Regions from separate parts of the Homo sapiens genome. Here region 2 is linked to region 1. Evidence: promoter capture Hi-C in 16 types of primary human blood cells and fetal thymus (Javierre and others, 2016). All regions are on one chromosome and are shown on one strand. The core of a region is centred on a gene start or on the middle of the fragment in contact, and the rest is flanking DNA. Distances in the headings are between cores, read along the strand shown. Region 1 holds the start of RBM17 (RNA binding motif protein 17). Region 2 has its middle 56 kb from the start of LINP1.

What was found. Contacts are between HindIII fragments. The CHiCAGO score rates a contact against its expected background, and 5 or more counts as called.
Region 2: a fragment that was not itself captured here is called in contact with the fragment with the promoter of RBM17 in region 1 in 3 of 17 cell types (non-activated CD4 T cells, naive CD4 T cells and fetal thymus); the score reaches 7.4 in non-activated CD4 T cells.

The regions. Positions count from the first base shown.
Region 1 is chr10:6,087,647-6,090,346 of GRCh38, reverse strand. It overlaps RBM17 (RNA binding motif protein 17), which reads right to left and starts at 1,313. Exons shown (of 12, transcript NM_032905.5): 1 at 1,154-1,313. RefSeq lists silencers at 582-641, 912-1,001, 1,012-1,451 and enhancers at 1-655, 1,612-1,661. The HindIII fragment of the contact is 5,297 bases long and covers 1-2,105 here.
Region 2 is chr10:6,680,174-6,682,873 of GRCh38, reverse strand. No RefSeq gene overlaps it. Among named protein-coding and RNA genes, the nearest start is that of LINP1, 56 kb to the left of the region's middle. The HindIII fragment of the contact is 1,844 bases long and covers 458-2,301 here.

The DNA of each region.
Region 1 (2,700 bases), core at 64-2,563:
AGCCTTTACAACTAAAAATGTGGAAACTTGTGTTGCATCCTTTTAAAAACTCCATCTGCTGCGGGGAGCCAGTGCACATCTACCCATCTATTTGAGTATATGCGAATCTTGCCCTTATCTAGAATATCCTATTTCCCATCCATATGCCTGGCTCTAGCAAAATAAGGACCCTCAATGGCGCTTCTTTACTGCTTCTCAAGAAACCTCCATGTTCTGACCTGACTACTCCTGGAAACACAGCAGCCCCTCCTCAAACCTTTCTTTCTGCCTAACCTGCAGCTTCCAGAACGCACTACGGGGCTTCGCTTCTGCTACTTTCGCACTTACTTCCTCCGCCGGCAGCCTTTTTCCCACCTCTCACATCTAACAACGTACCTTCAAGACTCAACATAAGCATGACCTCCTCTCTCAAGAGAGGTCCTTCCAGACCCCACTTGCGTTTCTCAAATCAACCCGGGCCTGGGTTTTCACGCCTGCTTTCCCAGAAACCAAACTCCTGCAAGCAGGGGCAGAACCTCATTCCACCTGCATTCTCCGATCATTACACATTCTCGGGGCAAGAGGCGAAGCTCAAAGACTGCCTGGGGTCGGACGTGAGCGCTGAAACACCGCTCAAACTGCACGAGCCGAGGCGACGCCGGGGTTAGGGCTGCATTCCTGTCCCGGGCAGCTCCGGAGTCTGAGAAACGCCAACGTCTGCACTCCCAGTTCTGAGACCCCGGGAGGAACCGGCTCCGAGCCCCAGAGAGGGGCAACCGTGCAGGGCCAGGGGGGACACGCTACGGGCTACTCGGTTCTGGTGACCAGACAATTTCGTCAGGATGCGGTGCACGAGACGGAGAAGAAACGCTCTTCAGCACCAAACAGCCCGAGGCAGACATGAGGAGGAGGAGGAGGAAGGGAAGAGGGAGAAGGTCAGGGCCAGGGTCACCAGAGGCGGCGGCGGGCGGAGGGTACCGGGCCGCAGCCGCGTGGAGAGACCAGCGCCCGCCGCGGGGACTGAGACCCTCGGAGGCTCCGGCTGCGCTGGCCCGGCCTCCGCCCCTCGCGACGGGCCTAAAGCCGCGGGCTTGCGTCTAGCGCCTCCCGGGAAGGCGCGCCCGCCTCAGGTCCCGCCAGGCCACCCACCCGGGGCCGCCGGGGCGCCACTTACCCGGCCCGCCCGGCCGACTCTGCCCATGAGCCGCGCCGGCGGCAGAGCGGAGCCGGGCGGCACTCCGCGGAAACCCGCCAGCGGCAGGAGGCCTCGGCGGCGCCCACCCTTCGCTGAGTCCTCAGGGCGCTCGGCGGCGCGGGGTCAGGGAGCGCGGGCTGCCGGGAGAGCGCGCCCGCGCCTGCGCCCCGCCTGCGCCTGCGCCTGCTTCGGCCTCTGCGCCTGCGCCGAGGGCGCCTTGCCGCACTGCCCCCTGCCCGCGGGAGGACCGCACTGCACGCTCCCCTCCGCCGGCGTCTTCTTACCATCAAGAGGTGTCGCCCTGGCGCACATTTTCGAAATTCCACAAGGCTTGGGGAGCGCGGCAGCGCCCCCAGATGGTGAGGAGGAGAAGTGGTCCGAGGCCGGGCTTTCTGATAGGGGAGGTGGGGGAAGTCCCTCCAGGCCCCTCGATCTCATTCATTCAAAGCCACTCCTATATAAGCAAAAAGTTGAAAATAAGTCTGCATAGGCCAGATGCTGCAAAAGGATGGCAAGGAGCACGAGGTTAAGCGTAAGATTATGGAAACAGATGCCGCGATTAGGGGTACAGAAAAGAATGTCAATGCTATAAAGCCTCGGTCTTTAAAAACGACGTCGCTGACAGAAGCAGGGAGGGAAAGGGAAAGTGGGACTTCGGGTAAATATGATTTTTACATCTGTAATTAATTGGGTGTCAAATAGAGTTCAAGCCGATAAATCAAATAGTAGAGATTTAAGCAGACGTCTTAGTCCGAAGGAGTATACCAAGAAAGTTACTATAATCCATTAAAATCCAGTCATTAAGAAAACGGGAAAAGGGGGAAAAAAGAAATACAGTGGAGAGACAAAAGACAATCTAAAGAAATAGAGGATTAAGGACGTCATGGGATGGTATGATTCTGAGGGTAACCCAGAACAAAACTACAAAGCTTTCAAATAATCCACACATACATGCACCCACACATACATGCATGCACACACACACACACACACACAAAACCACAGCAAAAAAAATATATATATAGGGAAATATTTTAAAAAGTTACAAAACAGAAAGCGTAACCAAACTATATGACAGAACAAGACCAAATGTCTCACAAGAAGAAATATAGACCTAAGCTTACCTACTAAAAAACTACAATCTCAGATAGGAGCACAAACCATCATGCAACTCAGTGTTGTATACAAGAAAGTGCTAACGTTATTCTGAGTTTGAAAATACAAGATTGGAAAAGATATACCAGGAATATGCAAAAAAATTAAAAAAATCAGGAATCACAAACCGCTTACTACAAAGTTGATTTCAGGGCAAAAAGCATTAAGTAAGATTAAGAAGGACATTTTATAATCTTGAGGAGCACAATTCACAATCAAGAAAAAAATAGGAAAAATAGGAAAATCTTTGCACCAAATCACATAATCTCATTATTCATAGCAAACACTGTAGGAGTGAGTGAATAGACAGAAATAATTGGCACACTCCTTGCCAGACGAAGAGTACAAAAAGTAAATGGGGATTGAGAAGA
Region 2 (2,700 bases), core at 130-2,629, 590 kb before region 1:
ATATAGAAAAAATTGTCCCGATATAGAAAAAATTGTCCCTATGGCAGTTTAAAGAGGGAAGAGAAGCTTCAAAGGAGGTGATGGGCAGACAGCATTTGAAATAGGTCTTAAGTGATAGGTTGAATTTGGACATTTGGAGATAACGGGTAAAGAAATGCCAGGCAGAGGAAGCAGAATTCATTTGAAATAAAGTTAACTACTCTTGAAGAAACTGCATATCTGTGCTGTTAATTTAGAGCTCTCTTGTAATGTGACTACAACTTTGGCAACATGAAGAGATAAAAACGATACTACTCACCAAAATGCAAATTCTGACCCATTGAATAATAAACTGATTAATAAGGCCATCCCTGAGAAGAATGTCTTTTGTTCATATAGCTCAGAATAAATTGTTGCATGGTAACAATGGAACCAGCCAGTTCATTGCACTTCCCTCCCATAGACTGAGAATGAAGCTTTCTTGTTACTAGATTACATTTTTGAAGAAAGAAATATATATATATAATACTGCCCTTTAGAAGGAAAGCATAATTTCCATTCCAAACATTGGTTTTGGGTGGCAGACACACACACTCATTAGGACAATTCTCTGTGGCATAATCAACATTGCTGTTGAATGTATTTCTGATGGAAAAAAAATCCCAAAAATACACTTGAACTTGTATAATCTCTGAAAAATTATACCTTTCTTTAATGTTTTACCCCCAAAATTTCTTTTGTAGTTAATGCCCATGATGAATCAAATAATGAACCAATGAGTTAGCCTAAACACAAAAGGGCCAGAAAAAGAAAAAAAAAAAGAACTATGCTAATAAAAAAGATCAGAATATGCCACCCTTAAATATGCCACTTTGACATAAAAATTATTTGAGCTGAAGGCACTAGAGAAACAGCAGATACAGGAAGAATTCTCTGGCCTTCCTCTTTCTGCCTGAAAAACAGGGAATACATTTTTATTTGTAAAGGCGTCTCCCTCTCCTGTACCAGGAAGAGGAGAATGACTCTTAATCATGCAACATAACGCTTATCACTAGAGACTTGCGTTTGAATTAAAAAAAAAAACTTACTAAATAACCCTTGTCTATATATAATATATATTTTATATATATATAATTTTTTCCACAATTTATCACACCTAGAAACCCCTTTTCTTTTGTCACTTCTTCACAATGTATCACCCTTTGTTAAAATAGTATATAAGCTCTCAAACTTAACCATTTCTTTGGGATTTCACTTCTTTTCTGCAAAGCTGCCACATGCATTTGAAATAAAATGTTTTTTCCTGTTACTCTGTATTTTATCAGTTTGATTTGCAAGCTCCAGTTACAGAACCTAAGGTGATAGAAAGAAGTTCCCCTAGATTGGCAACATCATGACTATCCAATAAATGTTTGTAGAAAGATGCCAACAGCCTTTAGGTACTCCCAAAGGATCAGATAATTATTAGATCTAGGAGGTGGGGTCGGGAGTGGAGTATCTCGAGACCATGCCAAACTTCTCTTTACCAATGAAGAAACAGGGACTGGGAGTCTTATTTGTGACACACAGCCCAAGCACTCACCGCGAATTTACATTTAAGTTACCAATTAGAGGTATGTTTGCAAAATGAGTCTTCTGACTGCATTGCAGAATCCTTTCTGCTATTCCCTGGTGCCTCTCAACTCACACAACCAGAGAAACCCAGTTTAACCTTTTTTATTTGTGTCTGTTTTTAACACATGTATGTTATTCTTATTTGATTACCAGTGTGATAGAAAATATCCATAGAATCCTGAGATGAGTTGGGCAGATAATAAATCTCGACTTGCTGGACGCTTAGACTTGGAGGACTTCCTTTGAACACAGAAGTACGTCCTGCCATTTGAAGATTTGAAGATGCATGTGAAAATGAGATTTTTTGAGGTTTTGTTTCCCAGGCAACTGCTCTCAATTCAAGATTGGATGTGAGCATTAGAATCCCCCCAGAGGTACTCTCCCCCTCCCACCCTCATCCTCTTTACTGCAATGAAGCTGTAGACTCAGAGGACCCAGCGTTCTAGCCTCCTTTGGAGACTGAAAGCAGATGCAGAGAAGGTTAAGAAATGATGCGAAATTCGTAAGCATAAAATGCCTGCAGGCAAGCAAAGCATTCTAAAAACATTCAGTGCCGAGAAAAGGCACGTGTTGACCAACGTATGGGGAGGCTAGAAAAGATGGGAAAAGAAGCCATTCTGTCATCGGTCATAACCTTCCAATATCATTTTATCTCAGCAGATAATGGAACAGGGAAAGCCAGGTTTTTCAAAGCCATAAAGTAAAGCTTTAGTAGCTGAATGACAACTAAATTGCTGTCGGGGTGGTTTAGCACAAAACAAGCCACTACTGTTCTCTGTTAAAACAGTTCCTGAGATTTGCAAGCCAAGGAATCCAAAATCACCCAAGCAGTCAACATGACTTAAAGATTTTCCAGTAGTTTCAGGGCCCATTAAATTTATGTAATATCTACAATATCAACTATGAAAAAAATGTTTTGTATTCATGGATAAAATGTAAGTGGCTACTTCTCCAGAAAAGAGTATATGTCTTTTCTACCAGAAACTTCAGCTTTTTGAAGCAATGGAGAGTTTCACAGTGGGGGGGTCTGGCGGCATGGGACATCTTAAACTGGTTATTTCAAAGGTATTTTTTTCTTTCTCAATGTGATCATGGCACTAGACTTTA